3 separate regions of the Homo sapiens genome follow, and all the other regions are linked to region 3. Evidence: promoter capture Hi-C in 16 types of primary human blood cells and fetal thymus (Javierre and others, 2016). All regions are on one chromosome and are shown on one strand. The core of a region is centred on a gene start or on the middle of the fragment in contact, and the rest is flanking DNA. Distances in the headings are between cores, read along the strand shown. Region 1 overlaps DNTTIP1 (deoxynucleotidyltransferase terminal interacting protein 1). Region 2 overlaps UBE2C (ubiquitin conjugating enzyme E2 C). Region 3 holds the start of NEURL2 (neuralized E3 ubiquitin protein ligase 2).

The links. Contacts are between HindIII fragments. The CHiCAGO score rates a contact against its expected background, and 5 or more counts as called.
Region 1: a fragment that was not itself captured here is called in contact with the fragment with the promoter of NEURL2 in region 3 in 14 of 17 cell types (megakaryocytes, erythroblasts, naive CD4 T cells and 11 more); the score reaches 23.9 in megakaryocytes.
Region 2: a contact is called between a fragment that was not itself captured here and the fragment with the promoter of NEURL2 in region 3, in 2 of 17 cell types (erythroblasts and megakaryocytes). The highest score is 10.1, in erythroblasts.

The regions. Positions count from the first base shown.
Region 1 is chr20:45,797,475-45,801,092 of GRCh38, forward strand. It overlaps DNTTIP1 (deoxynucleotidyltransferase terminal interacting protein 1), which reads left to right. Exons shown (of 13, transcript NM_052951.3): 5 at 3,600-3,618. Among named protein-coding and RNA genes, the nearest start is that of DNTTIP1, 7.3 kb to the left of the region's middle. The HindIII fragment of the contact is 279 bases long and covers 1,150-1,428 here.
Region 2 is chr20:45,814,736-45,817,935 of GRCh38, forward strand. It overlaps UBE2C (ubiquitin conjugating enzyme E2 C), which reads left to right. Exons shown (of 6, transcript NM_007019.4): 4 at 806-1,010; 5 at 1,119-1,178; 6 at 1,974-2,217. The coding sequence ends at 2,032. Among named protein-coding and RNA genes, the nearest start is that of UBE2C, 3.7 kb to the left of the region's middle. The HindIII fragment of the contact is 4,695 bases long and covers 1-3,200 here.
Region 3 is chr20:45,889,226-45,892,457 of GRCh38, forward strand. It overlaps NEURL2 (neuralized E3 ubiquitin protein ligase 2), which reads right to left and starts at 1,983. Exons shown (of 2, transcript NM_080749.4): 1 at 1,025-1,983. The coding sequence starts at 1,766. It overlaps CTSA (cathepsin A), which reads left to right and starts at 2,110. Exons shown (of 15, transcript NM_000308.4): 1 at 2,110-2,154; 2 at 2,344-2,537; 3 at 2,691-2,802; 4 at 3,048-3,098; 5 at 3,173-3,232. The coding sequence starts at 2,344. It also overlaps a transcript of SPATA25 not described here. RefSeq lists enhancers at 1,448-2,157, 2,397-2,446 and a silencer at 2,087-2,356. The HindIII fragment of the contact is 4,274 bases long and covers 1-3,232 here.

The DNA.
Region 1 (3,618 bases), core at 39-2,538, 92 kb before region 3:
ACAAATGGGATCTAATTAAACTAAAGAGCTTCTGCACAGCAAAAGAAATGACCATCAGAGTGAACAGGCAACCTACAGAATGGGAGAAAATTTTTGCAATCTACTCATCTGACAAAGGGCTAATACCCAGAATCTACAATGAACTCTAACAAATTTACAAGAAAAAAACAAGCAACCCCATCAACAAGTGGCCAAAGGACATGAACAGACACTCCTCAAAAGAAGACATTTATGCAGCCAAAAGACACATGAAAAAATGCTCATCATCACTGGCCATCAGAGAAATGCAAATCAAAACCACAATGAGATACCATCTTACACCAGTTAGAATGGTGATCATTAAAAAGTCAGGAAACAACAGGTGCTGGAGAGGATGTGGAGAAATAGGAACACTTTTACACTGTTGGTGGGACCGTAAACTAGTTCAACCATTGTGGAAGTCAGTGTGGCGATTCCTCAGGGATCTAGAACTAGAAATACCATTTGACCCAGCCATCCCATTACTGGGTATATACCCAAAGGAATATAAATCATGCTGCTATAAAGACACATGCACACATATGTTTATTGTGGCACTATTCACAATAGCAAAGACTTGGAACCAACCCAAATGTCCAACAATGATAGACTGGATTAAGAAAATGTGGCACATATATACCATGGAATACTATGCAGCCATAAAAAGTGATGAGTTCATGTCCTTTTTAGGGACATGGATGAAGCTGGAAACCATCATTCTCAGCAAACTATCACAAGGACAAAAAACCAAACACCGCATGTTCTCACTCATGGGTGGGAATTGAACAATGAGAACACATGGACACAGGAAAGGGAACATCAGACACCGGGGCCTGTCGTGGGGTTGGGGGAGGGGGGAGGGATAGCATTAGGAGATATACCTAATGTTAAATGACGAGTTACTGGGTGCAGCACACCAACAAGGCACATGTATACATATGTAACAAACCTGCATGTTGTGCACATGTACCCTAAAACTTAAAGTATAATTTAAAAAAAAATGCCTTACCATGACCCACAGAGCCTACCCTCGACTGGCTTCTGCCTGCTTCTTTAACTTCATTTCATCTCACCTCTTTTTTATTGACTATACTCTGGCTGTTCTGAACTCCTTTCTGCTCCTCCAGCACAAGCTTAGGCCATTTCACTTGCTGTTCTTAGTACCTGGGGTACTCTACCCTTAACTCTATAAAGCCGGCTCCTTCTTTTCTTCAGATCTTAGTTTAAATATCAGAGAGGTCTTCCCCTCGCACTCCTACCTCTGCTAAAATCTTGAGCTTTACAAGAGTTGAGGCCTAATCTTGTTCACCACTGTATTCCCAGCCCTGGAATATGACTCTTAGTATGTGTACAGAGTTTGCTGAATTATTGAGTAAATGAAGGAACAAACAAATGATAAATGAACAAACAAGCTTCCTGCTCTAATAGAACTTAACAGCCTACTTAAGCAGACAGGTGTGAATTAGATTACCAACAAATGTGTGCATAATTACACATTGAGACTTGATCACCCTTCACTGGAAAGGGACAAAGTTTGGAGGAGAAGAGCATGAATCCAATTATGGATTAGCAGCTTTGAGCCATCCAAGCATAGACATGGGGCAGACTATTTGGTATATAAGTCTAGAGCTCAGAGGATAACCTTTTGTCTACAGTTGAATTATGGAATCGTGGTTTATAGATGTTAATTGAAGCTGTGAGAATAGGTGAGAGCAGATAGAATATGTAATGAGAGAGGATAGGGAAAAGAACCAGATTGAGAAGGAAAAGCCAGCAAAGAAGGCTAAGAAAGAACGGCCAGAGAAGTAGAAGGAACACAGGAAGTGTGGCCACAGGAGCCTGTAGAAAAGAGTGTTTCCAGAAGGGGGAGCCCTCAGCACTGTCAAATGCCACTGGCAGAGGTCGGGTGAACCCAATTCTCCACCTGCTGCACCATCTCCCCTCTGCCCATTCCATCCTTTTCTTTGTCAAATGAGCCAGGTGTTCCCACCTTTGAGCTTCTGCACTCCTCCCTGCTGCTGAAACACTTCTGCCCAGCTTTTTTTACAGCCTCCTTCACATCTCAACTCAGAGGCCACCTTCTGAGCAAGGCCTTCCCTGGCCATTCCCGCAAAGTAGCCCTTCCCCTCTGGTGGTTCTCTGTCACATCTGCCTGGGTTTTTTTCTTTTTTTCTCACAGCATCTATCATGATCCACAGTTACCTTGTTTGTTTCTGTGCTTATTATCCAGATCACCCACAAACTATAAGCTCCACAAGAGCTTGTCCTAGTTACTGCTGTGTCCACAGCACTTAGGTCCCAGGTACTCAGTATTTATTAAAAGAAAAACAGCAGGCCAGGCGCACTGGCTCACGCCTGTAATCCCAACACTTTGGGAGGCTGAGGCGGGCAGATCACGAGGTCAGAAGTGTGAGACTAGCCTAGCCAACGTGATAAAACCCCATCTCTACTAAAAATACCAAAAAAAAAAAAAAAAAAAATTAGCTGGGTGTGGTTGCACGCCTGTAATCCCAGCTACTCAGGAGGCAGAGGCAGGAGAATTGCTTGAACCTGGGAGGCGGAGATTGCAGACAGCCGAGATCGCACCACTGTACTCCAGTCTGGGCAACAGAGCAAGATTCCATGTCAAAAAAAAAAAGAAAAAAGAAAAACAGCAGCTTACTGAGGAGTATGTGTTATACTAATGTATTTAGTTTGAAAAAACATACAGTATGTATTTACATGGGAAAAGCAAGGAAGAATTTACATTGAAACATTAATAGTAGTTTATGTAATGAGATTCCAGGTTTTTCTTATTTTGCTTTTTTACATTTTTTAATTTTTCCAGCCATGATCATTAATTCAAGTTTTTTTAAAAATAGATATCTATTTCTATGCATATAAATATATATATGTGTGTGGCTGGGCGTGGTGGCTCATGCCTGTAATCGCAGCACTTTGGGAGGCCAAGGCAGGTGGATCACCTGAGGTTAAGAGTTCGAGACCAGCCTGGCCAACATGGTGAAACCCCGTTTCTAATAAAAATACAAAAATTAGCTGGGCATGGTGGTGGGCACCTGTAATCTCAGCTGCCTGGGAGGCTGAGGCAGGAGAATCGCTTGAACCCAGGAGGCGGAGGTTGCAGTGAGCTGAGATAGCACCACTGCACTCCAGCCTGGGCGACAAGAGTGAAACTCCATCTCAATTTAAAAAAAAAAAAAAAATATATATATATATATATATATATATATATATATATATATATATATATATATATATATATATTTGGAAGTGGGCCGATCACTTGAGGTCAGGAGTTCAAGACCAGCCTGTCCAACATGGTGAAATCCCGTCTCTTCCAAAAATACAAAAATTAGCTGGGTATGGTGGCGCACCCCTGTAGTCCCAGCTACTTTGGAGGCTGAGGCATGAGAATCACTTGAACCCAGGAGATGGAGGTTGCAGAGAGCCAAGATGGTGCTGCTGCACTCCAGCCTGAGCAACAGAGCAAGACTCTGTCTCCAAAAAAAAAAAAGGAAGTAGGTAGGGTGTGCTTACCCACCAAAATAGTGACTGGTAACACTTGGTCTTTTTCCCTTCAGGCTAAACTGCTCTTTTCAG
Region 2 (3,200 bases), core at 89-2,588, 75 kb before region 3:
AAGAAGGCAGCTTCCCATTGCTGCAGATCAGGTTTAAGATGAGTCAGAAGTCCAAATCTGTGCCAAATCTAATTTTTACGTATTAGCAACTAATATTCTTTTTTTTTTTTTTTTGAGACGGAGTCTCGCTCTGTCGCCCAGGCCAGACTGCGGACTGCAGTGGCGCAATCTCGGCTCACTGCAAGCTCCGCTTCCCGGGTTCACGCCATTCTCCTGCCTCAGCCTCCGAGTAGCTGGGACTACAGGCGCCCGCCACCACGCCCGGCTAATTTTTTGTATTTTTAGTAGAGACGGGGTTTCACCTTGTTAGCCAGGATGGTCTCGATCTCCTGACCTCAAGATCCACCCGCCTCGGCCTCCCAAAGTGCTGGGATTACAGGCGTGAGCCACCACGCCCGGCCAGCAACTAATATTCTAATTGAACTAAAGCACAGGATGCCAATTTACAATCCTTAGACCAAAGAGTCACTGATGTCTCCACCAGATAAGAGGAAAGCATCAGGCTAGGCATAGTGGCTCACACCTGTAATCTCAGCACTTTGGGAGGCTGAGGCAGGCAGATCACATGAGCCCAGGAGTTTGAGACTGGCCTGGGCAACATGGTGAAACCCTGTCTCTAAAATAAAAACTAAACTAAAAAAACTTTTTAAAAAGGCAGTGGGGAGCATCAGAACCAGCTCAACAGTTTGTCTACTGTCCGGTCCCAGAGAAACTCAAGATTCTAGCAAGCCCCTTGTGTGGGGCTTGGGTTGGGACATGAGGCTGCTGCTGGAGCTTACTCTGCAACTGTTTCTCCAAATGCCAGGTATATGAAGACCTGAGGTATAAGCTCTCGCTAGAGTTCCCCAGTGGCTACCCTTACAATGCGCCCACAGTGAAGTTCCTCACGCCCTGCTATCACCCCAACGTGGACACCCAGGGTAACATATGCCTGGACATCCTGAAGGAAAAGTGGTCTGCCCTGTATGATGTCAGGACCATTCTGCTCTCCATCCAGAGCCTTCTAGGAGGTGACTTTAGAGACCACCCCTCCCCTCCATGCAACTTGGGAACCTGTCAGGACTCCCTGGGGTCAGCCTCTTCTACCGCCTTGACCTTCTCTTTCTCTCCACCCACAGAACCCAACATTGATAGTCCCTTGAACACACATGCTGCCGAGCTCTGGAAAAACCCCACAGGTGAGTCCTCAGTCCTTGAGCCCAGGGTGATCCCTCCCCCAACCTTCAAAGGCTCCCTCAAACAAAAGGAGCCCAGTGACTTGGGACCGGGTTGGTTGGGGCAGGGTGGAGTGTCGGCAGCAACCCACTTCTGTTTCTGCCCCAGTGCTCCTATTTGCTATAAAATAGCAATTGTTTTATAGCAGAATAAAAATGTTTGGCGATAAATAATTTTGGGAAATTATTGGTGAGACCAAGGCAGGAGGATAGCTTGAGGCCAGGAATTCAGTAGAGTGCCTTGCCTGTGCCCTCCAGTCTCACTGGAAGCAAGCCCTTCCAGGAGAGCTGCCTAGATGGGCAGTGCAGGGAGAATGCCGGGCTGGGAAACCAGCCCCTCCTCCACCTCCTCCGACCTTTGCATCCCTGGTCCAGCTGCCTCTTGCCCACCTTAATTCATCCTGGGCCAGGCACAGTGGCTCATGCCTGTAATCCTAGCACTTGGGGAGGCCGAGGTGGGTGGATCACATGAGGTCAGGAGTTTGAGACCAGCCTGGCCAACATGGTGAAACCCCGTCTCTACTAAATACAAAAAAAATTAACCGGGTATGGTGGTAGGCACCTGTAGTCCCAGCTACTCAGGAGGCTGAGGCAAGAGAATCACTTGAATCTAGGAAGCAGAGGTTGCAGTGAGCAGACATCATGCTATTGCACTCCAGCTTGGTCAACAGAGTGAGACTCCATCTCAAAAATAATAAATAGTAAAGATTAACTCATCCTGTCTCCATCACTCACTGAGACCTGCCTGTTCTCTTCCAGCTTTTAAGAAGTACCTGCAAGAAACCTACTCAAAGCAGGTCACCAGCCAGGAGCCCTGACCCAGGCTGCCCAGCCTGTCCTTGTGTCGTCTTTTTAATTTTTCCTTAGATGGTCTGTCCTTTTTGTGATTTCTGTATAGGACTCTTTATCTTGAGCTGTGGTATTTTTGTTTTGTTTTTGTCTTTTAAATTAAGCCTCGGTTGAGCCCTTGTATATTAAATAAATGCATTTTTGTCCTTTTTTAGACAAGTTGTTGCGTTGTAATTTCACTAGGGTTGGAGGTACTCAGGGTAGGCAGAGGTGGAACTTAAGGATGTGGGGCCAAGCAATGGGGTGACAAAGATTTATTCCCTTGTACCTTATTTTATGACTCTGCATCTGTTTCTTCATCTATAAAATGAGTGTCACAATAATGCCTCCTGTCTATGGAGTCGGTGATGTGTACCAGCAATGTTAGTGAATGTTGGAGCTCCCTCAGCTGTGTTGCAGATGAGGCTGAGCCAGACCTTAGGCTGAAACCTACTCCTATAGCTGTAGAAGGAACAAGCGTGTGTGTTGGGGGGGGGATCCCAACACACAGCCACCCATGTTCTGTCCTGAAGAAGAATGCTTAGGTCACCCTAAGCAGGTCCAGGGCCTGGGGAGACAGCCAGGAAAAAAGCCCCTTCCCTGGCAGGACTCAGGTCTGAGCTCTGGTCTCCAGGCTCTAGCCCAGGTCCCCGGTGGAGCTCCACCTCCAAGGGGGCACAGTCGCCTCCTGCTGCATATCCCCCAGGGAGCCCCCAGCCCCTTGGGCTGCCTCTTTCCCCTGGCCTGATGAAGGCTCCAGTCTTTGAGCCCCTAGGAGGAAACACCCCTGCTGACCAGCTGGGTCCCCACAAGGGTCGGCAGGTGGAAGAGTAGGTTGAAGTGATAGGGCCCCCACAAAGCCCTTCAGGAAGATCTCCAAGGTAGATAAGCAGCATCCAGATGTGCTCCAACCTTGCACCCAACTCCTTCAGGTCTGTTAGCAGCTGGTTGGTTGTGCAAGCCTGAAGCGGGAGGGGTTTGGGATTGGAAGTTGGGTCCCTTCATGTCTATAATTGTGCTCTTAGGTCTCTCCTCTTGGGTTTTTTCTTAATCTAACATTCATACAAATACACTTGGGATCTTGTTAAATTCTTTTCTGTAGGTGTGAAGTGGAGCCTAAGATCCAGTCTGTTTATTTATTTTGGTTTCTAAATAGTT
Region 3 (3,232 bases), core at 733-3,232:
TAACTGCAATGCTTACCAGGGCTATAATGAATCATACTCAGCATTAAGAAGCTCTCAGTCTGGGGTTTGTTATGCCTCGAAGCCAATAGCCAATATGCCCAAGTCTATGAGCATGTTTCTTTCTTTTCTTTCTTTTTTTTTTTTTATTTAAAGAGAGAGGGTCTTGCTCTGTCACCCAGGCTGAAGTGCAGTGCTCAGTGAACTGCAGCCTTCAATTCTTGGGCTCAAGCGATCCTCCTGCCTTAGCCTCCCAAATAGCTGGGACTACAGGCATGCACCACCATGCCCAGATAATTATTTAATTTTTTGTACAGATGGGGTCTCACTTTGTTGCCCAGGCTTGAGCTAGCTAGCTTGCTTGCTTGCTTGCTTTCTCTCTCTTCCTCTCTCTCTCTCTTTCTTTTTTTTTTCAGAGTCTTGCTCTGTTGCCTAGGCTGGAGTGCACTGGTGAGATCTCGGCTCATTGCAACCTCCACCTCTCGGGTTCAAGTGACTCTCCTGCCTCAGCCTTCTGAATAGCTGGGATTATTGGCACATGCCACCACACCCAGCTACTTTTTGTATTTTTAGTAGAGACAGGCTTTCACCATGTTGGCCAGGCTGGTCTCGAACTCCTGGCCTCAAGTGATCTGCCTGCCTCCCCCTCCCAAAGTGCTGGGATTACAGGTGTGAGCCACTGTGCCCGGCCAAGCATGTTTCTAAGAAAAGGGCAAACAATTCTCAAAGAGGCCCCTAATATCTAAAATTGGTTTAGAATCCCTGCCCTAGGTGAATACAGGAAACACTATCAAAACTAAAAGGGAACTTGTAGGGCATCTTAATCAATCAACCAAGATAGGTACCAAGGCCCAAAACCATGTAGAGGCTTGTGCAAGATCACAAGCAGAGGTGCAATTTGAAGCTAGATTCTCCCACTCTTAAACTAGTGCCGGACAGACGAAGGCCTAGCACATGGGCTACGGAGCCCTAGTAGATTCCAGTCCCCACACTGAGCCAGGAGGGGTCGCTGCCCAGGGATACCTACAGCCATACTCGAGCTGGACAAGGCGCACGCTCTTTGTGGAAGCAAACACGTCCACCACCGCGTAGAGGGGCTGCGCAGCTGGCAGTCCCCGGGCGCTCGGGCCCATGTCCTCGCCGTTGATGATGATGTGCATGTCGGCCGTGCCATCGGGGCGCGGGCAAAAGAGGACACCCAGGCGGCTACGGCGCGCGGTCGGAGGCAGCACGTTCAGCTCATAGAGCTGGTCCAAGAGATGGCTGTAGAGCCCTGGCCGGCTGCGGCCCACCAGGCGGTCCCGGGGAATGCGAAACTGCTCAATGCGCAGATATGGTTCCACGAGGAGGGTTGGAGGTCGGCTGGGGGCCGCTGCCTCCGCCTCCGGGCGGCCCTCCCGGGGCACGCGGTTGTGGTGGCGCGTGATGGCGAAGACCCAGGTGTGGCCCAGGTTGACCAGATCGGGCAGAGAAAACTCGGGAACGGGGGCCAGACTGGCGGGGTCCAGCGCGGTCAGACCGAGACGCAGATGTCCGCACCAGCCCAGCTCTTTCTCCTCGATCTCGACCAGGAAGACCTGGCCCGGGGCCAGCGGCTCGCGGCTGAAGCACACGCCGTGGGCGAAGCTCTCCACGCGTGTGGCCCGCGTCCCAGAGGGGTCCACGCGGATGTTGGCACCGTGCACCCGATGGAAGCGGGTGGGAGGGGGCTCCGGGCGCTCGAGTCCCCAGAGTGCACCCGAATCCACGGGCTCGGAGGCAGCAGCCATCTCTCGGCCATAGGGCAGGCCAGCTGGCGCCGGGGGCTATTTTGGGCGGCGGGCAATGATGGTGACCGCAAGGCGACCTTGTAAGGCATTTCCCCCCTGACTCCCTTCCCCGAGCCTCTGCCCGGGGGTCCTAGCGCCGCTTTCTCAGCCATCCCGCCTACAACTTAGCCGTCCACAACAGGATCATCTGATCGCGTGCGCCCGGGCTACGATCTGCGAGGCCCGCGGACCTTGACCCGGCATTGACCGCCACCGCCCCCCAGGTCCGTAGGGACCAAAGAAGGGGCGGGAGGAAGACTGTCACGTGGCGCCGGAGTTCACGTGACTCGTACACATGACTTCCAGTCCCCGGGCGCCTCCTGGAGAGCAAGGACGCGGGGGAGCAGAGGTGAGCTGGCACCGGAGGCTGGAGGGGATCCCCGAGCCCGGGATCGGTGCGCGGCAGAGGAGGCTCGCGGGTGGGAGCTGGCGCTGGGGCCGGGGCTTCCCTCGCGGAGGCGCCGCCAGCAACTCCCCGGGGGCTGCTGCACGGAAGCGCTGAGGAGCGAGTCAACAGCCCCTCTGCTGCCTCCCGTAGATGATCCGAGCCGCGCCGCCGCCGCTGTTCCTGCTGCTGCTGCTGCTGCTGCTGCTAGTGTCCTGGGCGTCCCGAGGCGAGGCAGCCCCCGACCAGGACGAGATCCAGCGCCTCCCCGGGCTGGCCAAGCAGCCGTCTTTCCGCCAGTACTCCGGCTACCTCAAAGGCTCCGGCTCCAAGCACCTCCACTACTGGTCTGCCGCCCTGCCTTCTGGGCGGGATTGGGAGAAGAGATGACGGATGAGGGATGGGGGGTAGTTCTGCAGACCCCTGAGGATGCCTGGGAGCCGGGAGGGCTGGAAAGGGCCCCTCCAACTGCGCCAACCCTGCCCTGACCCCCCTCCCAGGTTTGTGGAGTCCCAGAAGGATCCCGAGAACAGCCCTGTGGTGCTTTGGCTCAATGGGGGTCCCGGCTGCAGCTCACTAGATGGGCTCCTCACAGAGCATGGCCCCTTCCTGGTGAGTGGACAGCAGGGGGAAAGCACAGTTCCCAAAGTAAAAGGCTGGGGAAAGCGAGAGAGGGGCTTTGTGATTTTCCAAAAAGTTTCCTTCCTTCTAAGCCTCGGGATTTTCCTCTATGCCATTGGCTTTGCTGCCTGTACCTCTCAGAGGTTTTACCCACATGTAAAGTGCCTCTCATGGTGGCCCTTTCCCTCCACCCAGCTGGCCCTTGGGACTTACTCAGCCATCTCTTTCCTCCTCAGGTCCAGCCAGATGGTGTCACCCTGGAGTACAACCCCTATTCTTGGAATCTGGTATAGCTGGAGCTGTGGGTGTGTCTGGGCACTTGGATGGGGTGGCATTTAGCTAATTTTTCCCTCCCCTCTAGATTGCCAATGTGTTATACCTGGAGTCCCCAGCTGGGGTGGGCTTCTCCTACTCCGATGAC